4 separate regions of the Homo sapiens genome follow, and all the other regions are linked to region 2. Evidence: promoter capture Hi-C in 16 types of primary human blood cells and fetal thymus (Javierre and others, 2016). All regions are on one chromosome and are shown on one strand. Each heading gives the region's core, a stretch centred on a gene start or on the middle of the fragment in contact. The rest is flanking DNA. Distances are from core to core; before and after follow the strand shown. Region 1 has its middle 120 kb from the start of EXOC2. Region 2 holds the start of FOXF2 (forkhead box F2). Region 3 has its middle 140 kb from the start of EXOC2. Region 4 overlaps LOC101927691 (a long non-coding RNA gene).

The links. The method cuts DNA at HindIII sites, captures the fragments that hold promoters and counts their contacts. A CHiCAGO score of 5 or more calls a contact.
Region 1: a contact is called between a fragment that was not itself captured here and the fragment with the promoter of FOXF2 in region 2, in 9 of 17 cell types (M2 macrophages, naive B cells, M0 macrophages and 6 more). The highest score is 13.2, in M2 macrophages.
Region 3: a contact is called between a fragment that was not itself captured here and the fragment with the promoter of FOXF2 in region 2, in 3 of 17 cell types (M2 macrophages, M1 macrophages and M0 macrophages). The highest score is 6.6, in M2 macrophages.
Region 4: a fragment that was not itself captured here is called in contact with the fragment with the promoter of FOXF2 in region 2 in 1 of 17 cell types (M1 macrophages); the score reaches 5.7 in M1 macrophages.

What each region holds. Positions count from the first base shown.
Region 1 is chr6:808,406-811,523 of GRCh38, reverse strand. No RefSeq gene overlaps it. Among named protein-coding and RNA genes, the nearest start is that of EXOC2, 120 kb to the right of the region's middle. The HindIII fragment of the contact is 5,397 bases long and covers 1-3,118 here.
Region 2 is chr6:1,387,958-1,391,408 of GRCh38, reverse strand. FOXF2 (forkhead box F2) reads right to left here and starts at 1,833. Exons shown (of 2, transcript NM_001452.2): 1 at 291-1,833. The coding sequence starts at 1,461. It overlaps FOXF2-DT (FOXF2 divergent transcript), which reads left to right and starts at 1,948. Exons shown (of 3, transcript NR_187218.1): 1 at 1,948-2,390. MIR6720 (microRNA 6720) reads left to right here and starts at 998; the gene lies at 998-1,095. RefSeq lists an enhancer at 1-651. The HindIII fragment of the contact is 4,023 bases long and covers 80-3,451 here.
Region 3 is chr6:828,969-832,500 of GRCh38, reverse strand. No RefSeq gene overlaps it. Among named protein-coding and RNA genes, the nearest start is that of EXOC2, 140 kb to the right of the region's middle. RefSeq lists enhancers at 2,075-2,620, 2,621-3,168 and a silencer at 2,598-2,892. The HindIII fragment of the contact is 926 bases long and covers 798-1,723 here.
Region 4 is chr6:873,000-876,134 of GRCh38, reverse strand. It overlaps LOC101927691 (a long non-coding RNA gene), which reads right to left. Exons shown (of 3, transcript NR_110853.1): 2 at 2,161-2,384; 3 at 1-1,163. Among named protein-coding and RNA genes, the nearest start is that of EXOC2, 180 kb to the right of the region's middle. The HindIII fragment of the contact is 5,041 bases long and covers 1-3,135 here.

The DNA of each region.
Region 1 (3,118 bases), core at 169-2,668, 580 kb after region 2:
GCATGTGTGGTATACACAGTCACACTTTTTCAGATTCAAAATCCATGACACACTCCAAGACAGTTTTATATTTAATGCTTATGTGAACAATCCTCAGATATACTGCATATGCTGTAATCAAAATCACATGACGACTGCTTTCCAAAATACCAATGATATATCTACAAAGTATTCCCATGTGGAATGGCTTACAGTCATCATGAAGTTTCTCCATTTCAAGGATTCAGGCCTTCATGGAGTGGAGAGTGTGATTTGACTTGGGAAGCTGTGTAACATCAGAATATTTACAGGAAGTAACACAACATCACCTGATACCTTCATATTGCAGAGTAAGATTCACAAATTAGCCTGCCATTACTCTAAAATGTTAAAGTCATAGAGGCCGTTGTTGAACTTTCTGGTAGCCAGAGAAAGTCTCTACCAATTTATGCTATACCCATTCTGTAGATTTCTTTATTAACCATCAATAAGCAAATGTATGCACAATAAAGATGAATGTTGGGTGATTTTATATTCTCCAGCATGGACCAACACAACCAGTTTGAAAGTTAGTCAATGCCCAACATTTTAGAAAGAGTTACCTCAGGCTGAAAATGAAAATGAAATGAAAATGAATTTCGTTTTTCCAGAGTACTCAACAATGGCTGACTATAGGGAAGAATGGCATGCTGAAAGTTGAATAGGCCCTAGGAGAATGCAATGATTTCTCCGCTTTGGAAATTGGCACATAAAAATTCTAAATAAATTTAGGCAATAACTACTATTACGATGGTGAAATTTTATATTTCCTTATCTTTTGTATTTTCTTAGAAATTTGATGCATCAAAATCATATTGTATTTCCTGACGCATTTTTTGAGAAACATCTGTTGATTTGCTGATGGGAATTACATCAACCTATGGTGACATTCATTCACTCATTGCAAATACATATTGCCCCTTGACATAAAGAGGATGGGGAGAAAAGTTGCTCCTTATTCTGACTCTGATCTCATTTGTGAAAGGTAACTGTGTGCAGTAATTCTGCAATCTCGAAAGATGTGACAGTTATACTTTGCACCCAATTATTTGTGGCCCTCCTATTAGAGGATAATAGATCCTTAGTGACTGTCATGTAACTTGTGATGCCTTCCTGTGAGAGAAGGATGTCCCTGTGGCCTTTGATGCTTAGGCACGGCCCAGGACTTGCTTTAGGCGACAGAGCATGGCATACATCTTATCCGAGGTGAACTCTAAGAACTGCTCTATGATTCCCCTCTGCCTGTCTTTTCTTCTCTCATGAGAATGGTATGTTTCCAGTGAAGCTATTCCTCAAACTTACATCCTGGAATGAAAACCTTCAGACAACATATAATGAGAGTGAGAAATAAATCTTTGTTGTTTTAAGCCACTGAAATTTAGACGTTATTGGTAACTGCAGAATAAACTAAAGAAGTTGAATATGGTAGTCCACTCTTATACAAAGTTTTGCTTTTTGTTGCTTCAGTTACCCAAGATAAACAAAGAAGGCTGAGTACAGTAAAAGAAAGAAATTCTGAGAGAGAGATACAACATTCACATAACTTTTATTACAATGTACCATCCTAATTGTTCTACTTTATCTTTAGCTATTGCTGTTCGTTTCTTACCATGCCTAATTTATAAACTAAACTTTATCATAGGTATGTATGTACAGGAAAAAACATAGTCTACACAGGGTTTGATACTGTTGTTGGTCTCAGGCATTCACTGGGGGTCTTGGAGTGTATCCCTCACGGATAATGGGGGATGACTGGATACAAAGCAGTGAGGCTGAAGATGAGGAGCCCACACAGTAAGGATGGAAGCTCACAGGCAGAGGAAGTGTGGCTCCCTAGTGACACTGCCAAGCTCCCATTCCAGCCTTTGAACTACCTACCCCTAGAATTGGCAATATATGAGACAATTAATTAAACTTCACTAGTACTTAAGCCTTTCCCCTTCTTCCTTCACATCTGCCACGCTGGCAGGGGAGTCTTGCCCCTGCTTCCATGTGCCGGCCCACTCCCTTCTTACCTTCTTGGGCCGTTTCTCCATCAGTTGCCATCCCTCCCTGGACTGGGTCCTCCATGCTTGCATTTGAGTGTCATCAGTCACCATCTCTTCCTGAAAGTCTACATTGACCTGTCAACAGCTGCCTGATTCTCAGTCTGCATCTGGTTTCCTACACAGGTGGGAAATCATCCACAGTATCCTATGCTTAACTTGTCTTAACACTTAGCATACTTTATCCTCATTGTCTGTCTTCTTGCTTGTGTTCAATATTACATGTAGGTTTTAATCTGTTTTTTCATGATTCTTTCATCAATACCTGTTCAGAGAAAATTAAGAATATTTGGTAGAGAGTAAGCTCCGAACTGATAGTATCTACCAAATTATCTAGAAAATGACAGGAGCTTAGTAAATGTTTCATTTTGTTTTTCTGTTTTTTGTTTTTGTTGTTTTTGTTTGTTTTTGTTTGTTTGTTTGTTTGGGACAGAGTCTCACTGTGTCTCCAGACTGGAGTGCAGTGGGGTGACCTCGGCTCACTGCAACCTCTGCCTCCTGGGTTCAAGCGATTCTCCTGCCTCAGCCTCCCAAGTAGCTGGGACTACAGGTGCACACCACCATGCCCAACTAATTTTTGTATTTTTAGTAGAGACAAGGTTTCTCCATGTTGGCCAGGATGGTCTCGATCTCCTGACCTGGTGATCTGCCCGCCTCGGCCTCCCAGAGTGCTGGGATTACAGGAGTGAGCCACCGCGCCTAGCCTAGGGGCTTAGTAAATGTTTATTGTAAAATACATGTATCCCTGAAGGATGAAGGGAAGCAAGTATCTAGTTCTAGTACAAGGAGGTTGTAGGATAGGCAAATAATGGAGGTTGAATTGAAATGAGAGGTTGTGGTCTGCTCATAGAGAGCAATGAAAGTCCTGGTAAGGTGTGTGTTCTTCCATCTTCAGGCAATGGGATACCATTCCAAGGTTTCAAGCAAGGAAAATCATATTTCATCCTGCATCTTAGAAAGAGCACTGATGACAATGAAGGACATGAACAGGGAAAGGAATTGGCTGAAGATTATGTTTCTATCATCAGGCTAAGACATTCATTAAACTAGGCTGG
Region 2 (3,451 bases), core at 584-3,083:
CTGCACAGGGATCCCCAAAGAGCCCAGGAAGGCAGGGGACTTTACACCACGCTCACAGCAGCCAGACAATTCTGAAGCTTCGGCTGCTGGCCAGGGATACTGGGAGGACAGTAAGACCCTGATCCCTGCTCCCACGAATAAGATGCCGGCTTTCCCCAGCATCTGCTTTTCCCAGTGCCCTCAGACCTCCTAGCTTCGGGGTCCCTGTTTGTGGGAGTGGCAGTGGCCGCCAGCCCTGGAGGCCTAGAAGCGGTGCGCCCAGCTGGCTGGGCTGGAGCGTGCTGCGTTACCTGAGAGGTCCTCGCGAGCGTTCTGGTGCAAGTAGCTCTGCTCCAGCGAGTAGGAGGACATGCTGGAGTGCAGGCCTGCCGAGGCGGCGGGGTTGCTGCTGGGCGTCAGGGCAGGCGGCTGCTTGAGGTAAGGCGAGGCGCCAGGCGAGCTCCAGTGCGCCGCAGGGCTCGTGTAGGGCGAGTGGCATTCGATGGCGCTCGCCATGGCCGGGGACGAGGGTACCGGGCTGCTGCTGCTGTCCGGCCCGTAGTCGCCGCCGCCGCCGCCCCCGGCCGCACCGACGCCCCCGGGTCCCGCGGGCACCGGGCAGCTGGCCATGTAGGTGGAACCCGGGTTGGGCGACATGTGCGGGACGTGGTGGTGGTGGTGGTGGTGAGGGTGCGCGTGGCTGGGGGCGCCCGCGCCGGCGTCGTAGCCCGCGGGCATCATGTCGAGGCCGCCGTAGCCGCCCTGGCTGTGGCAGCCGAGCGGCGCCGACGGGGGCGCCTGGAAGTCGAAGCCCTGGGGCAGCAGCGACGCCCCGAAGCCCAAGCCGCTCACCACGCGGTGGTACATGGGCTTGAGCGCCTGGCACTTCCGCCTGAAGCCGCGCGGCCGGCGGCGGAACGAGCCCTCCTCGAACATGAACTCGCTGGCCGGGTCGATGGTCCAGTAGTGGCCCTTGCCGGGCCGCCCGAGGCCCTTAGGCAGCTTGATGAAGCACTCGTTGAGCGAGAGATTGTGGCGCACCGAGTTCTTCCAGCCCTGGTAGGCGCCGCGGAAGAAGGGGAAGCGCGCCTGCAGGAACTGGTAGATCTCGCTGAGCGTCAGGCGCTTGCTGGGCGAGCTCTGGATGGCCATGACGATGAGCGCGATGTACGAGTAGGGCGGCTTCTCGGGCCGCCGCAGCCCCGAGCTCGCCTTCTTGGCGCCCCCGCTCCCGGCGCCCGCGCCGCCGCCGCCCGCGCTCTTGCAGGCAGCCGAGGGGGCGCTGGCCGAATTGGAGGAGGACGAGGACGAGGCGCAGGAGGCGGAGGACGACGACGAGGAGGAGGAGGTGGTCTCCGGGGCGGCGGCGGCGGCGGCGGCGGCGGCGGGCGGCGGGCTCATCAGGGCGGCCTGGAGCGCGCCGGGGACCGGGCTGCACGCGCGGCGGAGCGGGGCCGGCGGCGGCCCGCCCTCGGTGGTCATCTGGGACCCGGGAGCGAGGCCGGGCCGCGAGGGCGGGCCCCGGGCGGGAAGCGGAGGCGCCGGAGCGGGGTCGGCCCAGAAGCCCTGCGAGCGCCCTAGCCCGCCGCCCGGGCTGCAGCCGTGGCCACTCCGGGCCAGCGCTTCGGCGTCGCCTCCCTCAGCTCCTCTGGGGCTTCTGGCGGCGGCGGCGGCGGCGGGCGGGAGGCAACGCCCGGCGCATCCCTCCCCGAGCCGCGGGCCCTGCCTTGCGCAACGGCCTCCCAGGCCGCGGGGCCGAGCGGCCGGCGCCGGGCGACTGCGCCCGCGAGTGGGACCGCGGCCTGGACCCCGGGGACGAGCCCGACGTCTCCCTTCAGGAGCGCTCCTCGCTCTGTCTCTCGGACTTCCTCCCTCCCTCGCCCTCCCCGGCCGCCCTCCTCGCTCCCTCCCTCCCTCCCTCCCCCCCCACCCCGCCCTGCCCCCTCCTCGCTCCGCGCCGCCGCGCTCACTCCTCCCCCTCCCGACCTGGCGGCCGCCTCCCTCTCTTATCTCGCTCCCCGCTCTCCAGGGTCTCCTCGCTCTTCATTCCTCTCGCGGCCTCCTCCCCTTTCCCTCACTCACCCTCTTTCCAATTGAGGGATCACAGACTCACTCCGGTTCTGCCAGGGGGACGACCCCCACCCCTCGCAAAACTCGACCACCTCTGACTTCATGAAATATTCTTTCTGTTTGCCCCCCGCAGCAAGCCCCGCGTCCCATCCCAGGACCCAGCCCCGCCCCTCCGCGCCCCCTTCCTCCTCCTGGCCCGCCGGGCCGAGTGGTGCTGCTGCGGGTGCGGCTGCTCGGAGCCTCCCTGGCCGCCCTCCCCAGGGCCGATACTGACTCCATCTGTCAACTTCGTTTAGACTTTGCCGCCCTCAGCCACACGCCGGGGTGCCAGACGCCCAAAGGTAACGTGCCAATCCTCTCTCTTTCTGGCAGGGCCTGCAGGCTCCCCGACAATTGTTAGGGCGACTGGGGGCCGCCGCAGGGTTGCGGGCCGCTGGCGATCGTGGACGTTTTCGGAACTTTGAGCAGAGGGATTTACACTGAGAAACCTAGGCCAAGTTTCAAAGACTCTGGAAACCTGGATCTCATGGGACTTAGGGTTGCATTTGCTTCCACTTCTTCCCCCCACCCCCGCACCCCAGTTAGTGTTCTGTAAGAAAAAAGTGCAAAAGAAAAAGGAAGGAAGGAAGAAAAGAAAGAAAGAGAAAGAAAAAGAAAGACCCTGAGATAAGCGAGATGGCTATATTTATAGTCAGTCCTGAAGGGGTGTGCAGCTGTCACTAGGTTTACATCCTCCGTCTTAACATTGCCCACCCAAAACTGTGCCAGGTCTCAGCTAACTCCTGTCCGAGAACACTTCTCCCCAGTTGTGGCTAATTCCTCCCTAAGTAAGAGTCAGGCTCTGAGAGAGATGTGCCCTCGGGAGCAATCACTTCCAATGAGACCCGACAGTTAGTTATTGGATTACACGTGCAGGGAAATGTAGTCCGACCAGGGATAGGAGCTGGGAGAGGGAGGAGGAGAGCAGGAGGCCGGAGCTGGCGGGGCCTCCCAAGGGCTGAAGGGGGAGGCCCAGAAAGAAGGTGCTGCAGACCAGCGGACCAAACAGGAGGTAGAGCTGGGCACCCCGCTGCGTCTAGGCTGAAAGGACCGAGGTGCACGGGTGTGCCTGCTGGGGAGCCTGGGGAGTTGCAGGAGGCAGGAGAAAGGGAGGTTGTGCAGTAATCAGGAGGAAGACACCAGGCAAAGAGCCTTCACAGCCGCACAGCCTAGGCAGGCCCCCTGGGGCGGCAGGAGCCCTGTGTGCCCCTGGAGTGCCGGGGGACTGCTCCTGGCTGAGTGTGCTGGTGGGGCTGTAGATGCAGAGAGGGCGGGTGGGGAGGGGAGGGGTATGTGGGAGGGGGGTGGGCCGGGGCTGGCCCCAGACAGTGACCTGAGGTTGAGTGGAAGCAGGCTTTTTCCA
Region 3 (3,532 bases), core at 11-2,510, 560 kb after region 2:
TTTTAATGGGATTGTTTGTGTTTTTCTTGTAAATTTGTTTAAGTTCCTAGTAGATTCTGGATATTAGAACTTTGTTGGATAGATTGCAAAAACATTCTCTCATTCTGTAGGTTATGATAGTTTCTTTTGCTGTGCAGAGGCTCTTTAGTTTAATTAGATCCCATTTGTCGATTTTTGCTTTTGTTGCAATTGCTTTTGACATTAATTAATTTTTGTATAAGGTGTAAGAAAGTGGTGCAGTTTCAATTTTCTGCATATGACTAGCCAGTCTTCCCAGCACCATTTATTAAATAGGGAGCCCTTTCCCCATTGCTTGTTTTTGTCAGGTTTGTTAAATATCAGATGGTTGTATATGTGCATCTTATTTCTGAAATCTCTTTTCTGTTCCACTGGTCTATGTGTCTGTTCTTGTACCAGTACCATGCTGTTTTGGTTACTGTAGCCTTGTAGTATAGTTTGAAGTCAGGTAGTGTGATGCCTTCAGCCTTATAGAACTTATATTCTTAAATACTACTTTTAATATTTTGAGAAATTAATATTTTGAGAAATACTTTGAGATAATATTTTGAGAAATTATCATCATGGTACTGAATAAAATGGTATATATGAGCATGCACTACAGGCTGCTTGGAGTCACCAGTATCCAGTGTCTCTGATTATACTTTCTCACCCACAGGCAGGAATGTGTAACCAGTTCAGGCCAAGAAGTTGTGAGTGGCAGTGACGTGTGCATTGAATTCTAGCATGAAACTTTCCACCATTCTCCTCCCCTGCTTATAGTAGTTGAGGGAGAAGCTTCATGCTAAAGTGAGGAAGCCACAGACAGAAGCCAGTGAGGACACCGATATCTGAGAAGTGTGCCCCACACCTCCTCCCAGACCTACTTGCCCTACTATTACAGTCCTGTTCTTTTCCAGTTCTTGACCAGCCTGTTATCCACTACACATGAATCAGCATAAATTTGAAACTTGAGTCAGTGGAAAACCAGACGTATCACCCCAAATTCATCCCGCTCTATCAAATTCACAGTTTATTTTTGTGTTGATGGGTAGAATCAGGATACAGTAGCTGTTGGCACTACTTCTTGCTGGTATCACACCAGGAAGACCTCTGCTGTGCATTCCCCTTTGCCTGTCCAGGTCCATGCCCACCTTACTCCATGTTCCAGGAGCCAGACCTTTATCAAGTGCATCAGACAGACTCCCTTGCTCTCTGGCTTCCAGTTGGATTTGGCCAGCTGGTGGCAGTTATTGAAATGAGCCAATTATGGCCTCTGCAAATAGACTCCTGGGTTGTTTATTTCTTCACTGCAGGCTGAGATCTATTACCTCAAAAGCCCACAGGTGTCAAATTCAAGTTGTTGGACATCCAATTATTTTAAAAATAGCCCAACTAAGCAGATCTGGGGCTAGTTAGAGCCCATGTGCTCTGCATACTCCAGGACACCTCATCCTGCATCTGTTGGCCATTATAAGATAAAGCCTCATGGTTGCAAGCTCCCCAAGCCACTTCGGCCCTTCAGAGCTCTCCGACTTGAGCCCCCACTATCATGCTTCTGAGTGGCATCACCTGGACACGTAAGCTCCTCCTCTAATCCTCCTCTCCCCAGGAGTTCCCTTGCTCTCCTCCCCTTCTGGGTGTGTCCCTCCCATAAGCCACTGGCTAGTCTCCTGCTGTGAGGGATCCTTTATGTGATCCTATCCAAGCGCTGCCCAGTGAAGCTTGCTGGGTGTTACTGCTTCTCGTGGTCAAGTCTTCTTCTTCGGTCAGCTCCAAATCCCTTGAATCCCTTTTAAAGGCATCAGGAGAAAACTTGAGCTTGAGGGGTGAGAGAGGTCAGTGTATTCATCCTTTGAACTTTCTTTCTCCAAAATTACAACTTGGCAATGATGGTATACTTTCCCCAAATCCACAGATCTTTTGGAGGGAGGCAGCCTTCTCTGTCTAATGCAGGCCTCCTCAGGTTCTCAAAGTCATCACCTTTGCTTGCGGTTTCAGGCCTAGCATGTTATCCGTTTCTCAGTGTTGTTAGCCCTGGGGTGCTAACTATTCCTTATTTCCCTTAACCCTGCCTACCCATATGTAAATACATACTATTTAGATGGCTTGTCTGTTTCATCAAAGACCCCATTTCATACCAAGGTCCTTACTTTTTCACAAGATACATCCATTAACTAGGCCCACTGTTTTCCCTATTCTGTTCATTTTATACAGGAAACTCCCAATGAGGCCATAGATTCAGCTTGAAGGAGAGGTTATGAGGCAATAGGAAAAGGTAACGTGGTATCTGAATCCCTGTGCATGCATGCCACTTACCTGTGCCCTCTGGCACCTGCTTAGCTCCATCCCACACATACTGTTTTCTTTAATAATGAATGCAATGTGGCACAACTTTATAATTCAATTCATTGTGTAATATCCAGTTCACAATGGGCATCTACCATGTTGTCACTTGGTATCCCACGGTTAGACATTCCATCTCTGCAAGGGACAAGTAGCAAGTCAGGAGCTGCCCTGCAAGTGGAAAAGAATTGTTGTAACCACAAAAGGGCATAGCCTTCCTCTAAAACCTCAGGCATCTGCTCTGCCAGTCTCCTATTGAGACTTGCCTGTCCTTCATACCACAGCCTCACTTGCCACAGACTCCCAGTGCCATTGTGCTTGTCGGTTTATTTTCTCAAAGATTAGAACAGCTTGAAGAAGAGCTTAGAGCCATTACAGTCTTTTCTTATGCTGAGCTTACTCAGCAGGTTTACAGAGCAGCACGCTCAAATGTGGTACGTGTTGCCTACAAAATTGAAAGAGAACCACTCAGCATTGTGCCTTTTTCTCCATGGTGGGCAGAACAAGATTCAATGGTTTGTCACTCACTTTACTTCTTGCCGTTTTGCTTTGGTTTTCTGTAAGTCTCGTATCTTTCTTATTCTTTAATTCTTCCATGCTAGCTTCTTTGTGTTTAATTGATTTTTTATAGTGTATGATCTTTATTCCTTATTCATTTCCTCTTCAGAAAAGTACATTTTTATTAATAGTTGCTTTCTTAGTTGTTACCTTGGGTGTTACAATTAGGATCTTAAATTAGTAACAATGTAGTTTGAATTAATATCAATTTACAGACTCGGTACTATACAAAACTCTTTCATGCAGCTCCATTTCTCCCTTTTCAGATTGCTATATCGTCACAAATCACATCTTTAGACTTTGTGTGCCCATTAACATAGATTTATAATTATTGTTTCATGCCTTTGTCTTTTAACTCATCAAGGAAAAAAGTAAGCTGTAAACCAAAAATACAATAATACTGGTTTTAGTATTTACCTATGTAGTTACCTTTACACTTGTATTTTATTTCTTCCTATGGCAAGTTATTGCCTCCTGTCTGAATCTGAACGGTTCCCTTTAGCATTTCTTTTTTTTGAGATGGAGTCTTGCTCTGTCGCCCAGGCTGGAGCGCAGTGGTGTGATCTCAGCTCACTGCAAGCTCCACCTCCAGGTTCACATCATTCTCCTGCCTCAGCCTCCCGAGTAGCTG
Region 4 (3,135 bases), core at 67-2,566, 510 kb after region 2:
TCAGCTGAGAATAAGGTATAGGGAAAGACAGCCTCCTTGGCAATCAAATGATTAAGCCAAGAGATGAAGCATCAGCCTTTTATTAAACTCTCATGCTAGCTACGTGTTCATTTCCTAAAGCGTCTTCTCTAGACCAGTGGAAGAGTGTAAAATGGGAATGCAATCCAGCTTGCTAACATTACATCAGAAGCTCAGTTTGGTATGGTACCTCATCCCCTCGTGTTGCCCTCACCCAGCAAACAAACAAAACCCTGCTAAATCTCAGTCCCAGAAAACAAACAGCTCGACCACTATGGGAGGAGATCACTTTTCTGGGAAATCTGGAGAAGAAAACAATTGATTCCATTCTGTCACGAATGGTTTGGTCTCATCTCCACATAGACGCTGAAGTGGAACTGAACAATCTCATGGATCTATCCTCTTTTTCTCTCTTTACATAACCCACCTCCTTTTCCCATCAGGGCTACAGAAAATAGGACATAACTGGGTCATTAGGTTCAGGCCCAGAGATCTGTCAAAAGGTCAATGGAGTGATATTTTCACAGCTAACAAGAGAGTAGTTTTCCCACTGACAATGTGGGGGTGAGAGACATTTGTGCTTCCCTGATTTCCTATCAAGTTTAGATTGCAAGTTTAGATAGCTGCATGGATGGGTAGATGATAGAGAGACGATAGGAGATGGATTGATAGATACATGAGATAGGAAAATAGGCAGACAAGTGCACTCTATAAAAGAGGAGATGAAGGGGAAAATTAGAAAAATGACAAAGTTCTTTTTGGAGTTTTTCGTTTGTTGGCCTGTGTTTTGGTTCTGTTTATATTTAAAATAGAGTATAGGGATTGTAAAGACGGTGGCCAGGTGAACTCTTGTCTCAAAGCCTTGCATCTCTCTTCTAGCAGGGCTGTTGTAAGATGAGTCATCAGGACCCAGAAAAGGCAACGTAGCAAGCCACCGTCCGCCAGATCACCTTTTCTAGAGTGCAGTGGGTTATCTTCCTCATGAGTGAGCCCAGAGGAAACACTGGATCTCCATGGAAAAATCACCCCCATAAAGGGAAGCAGACCCCGACCTGGGCCGCAATCTTCACCCAGCCCTCCATCTTCTAAAAATAACAGCGCCAGGCCACTCTTCCTTCCAGCTGCAGGCTCAGGACAGGGACTTTCTAAAAAAAAAGAAAAAGAAAAAGCACTTCTTCCTGTTTCACTAGTACTAGACACAGATGGCCAAGGACTCCCCACACAGATGCCCTAAATTTCACGTCCACTGTGACCAGGATGATGTGAAAGGGAAAACAGGCTGCTGCTGGCCATGGTTAGAGAACCGGGAAACAGGGCAGCTGTCCGTGGGGCTTTGGCCATTAGAGCCACGGGAAAGACATTCGCTGATTTCGCCTGTTTTCCTACCCTCTCCACAAAGCAAGGGCAGGTGTTTTAGAGACGCTTTGGTGTTTTAGAGATAGGCGGGTGTTTTAGATATGCTTTGGGTTGGAGCTAGATGTTACATCTTCACTCAGAGGGACCTGAGTGCACACACAAGCCAGTTCCTGGGCACTGGGTTCCACTCTTGTGTGCTGCTAAGTGGTAGGGCCCTGGTTTTCTAGAAGAGCAAAGCAGCTTTCTATCATACCAAAGCAGCTTGAGTCTCACGCTGGTCCTCAGGCAGCAAAGCAAAGGATGGGTAATACTTCCCTCCACAAACGAAGGTTCAACCAGAGAGGCTCCCATGCTCCTGGGGTACCCACAATGTTCCAACAGCCTCCTGATGGGTCCTAGTGGTGAAAAGATGCAACGGCCCAGCGCCAGGCCTCAGGGGACCTCCCCCATCCCCCCACAGCATCTGTCCCACGGGTCACTGCAGCCTCAGCCTCAGGCAAAACCTCTGGAAATCAGGAAATCTCCAGCTGTTTCCACAAAACCTCTAGCCCTTCGTTCTACTCTGCACAAACCCTCTCCTGGGAACTATATTAAAAATGAAATTAAATTTTATAAGAGCAGGCATTATATTGCCAGTTCTCACTGTGTACTGTATAGGTACATAGCCTGAGCTTGATCACATATGGGATTTTTGTTCTTTGTATAACAATTTGGGAATCAAGCACTTAGTCCATACTATAACCTCCATTATAAAACTTTTCTGTTAATAAATTAGATTAGACTTACATCATTTCAACTTGTAGTGCCTTTCCCAGAAACATAACCAGCCATAAGTTCCAGGAATGCAGTTTTGACCAGAGGGAAAAAGGGGCTCAAGGCCAAAGACCTGGGTTCAATCCCCTTTCTCTGCTACTTCCTGGCTGAATTTCTTAGGGAAGTTGCTCAGCTTCCTCCCATGTGAACTGTAGTTAATGGTAACAGCCACCTGCCTTGCTTGTTTTCATGATCAACTGTGAAGATAAAATAAAAGCACTTTATAAATGCTTTATGAACATCAGCTAGAAAGATAAATACCTTTGCTTGAAGCAGTCAATAATGATGAAATCCATACAAGCCAATCAACATTTCATTTAATGTTCCATGTTCCATTTCCAAAGGGAAAAAATTCTCTCCACAGAAGTTGGTAAAAATAGAGGAGTATTAGTTTGCTAGAGCTGCCATGACAAAGTACCACAGACTGGGCAGCTTAAACAACAGAAATTTATTCTCTCACAGTTCTGGAGGCTGGAAGCCTGAGATCGGGTTGTGTAGGGCTGGATTCTCCTTGGGGCCTCCCTCCTTGGCTTGTAGATGACGTCTTCTCCCTGTGTCCTCACATGGTGGTCCTTCTGTGCGTGTCTGTGTCCTAATCTCCTCTTCTTACACAGTCCCCAGTCAGATTGGATTGGAGTCCACCGTGGTCACCTAATTTTAATTTCACGACCTCTCTAAAGGCCCTGTCTCTAAACACAGCCACATTCTGAGGAACTGGGGGAGTTGGAGCAGGACACAGTTCAGCCCACATCAGATGGGTAGGACAGAAACTTCACCCATAAATTGAACTTGTTCATTTACTTTTTTCACTCTTTAATTTCAATCATCGAGTTCATTCAAAGAATGGTCTCTGATATAATGAATCTAGAAACTTTGGGCTGGCCTCATTTTCTCTACAACTTGATTTGTGGCCACGCTTACTAAGCCCGGGAACGTTCACTTTTGTAG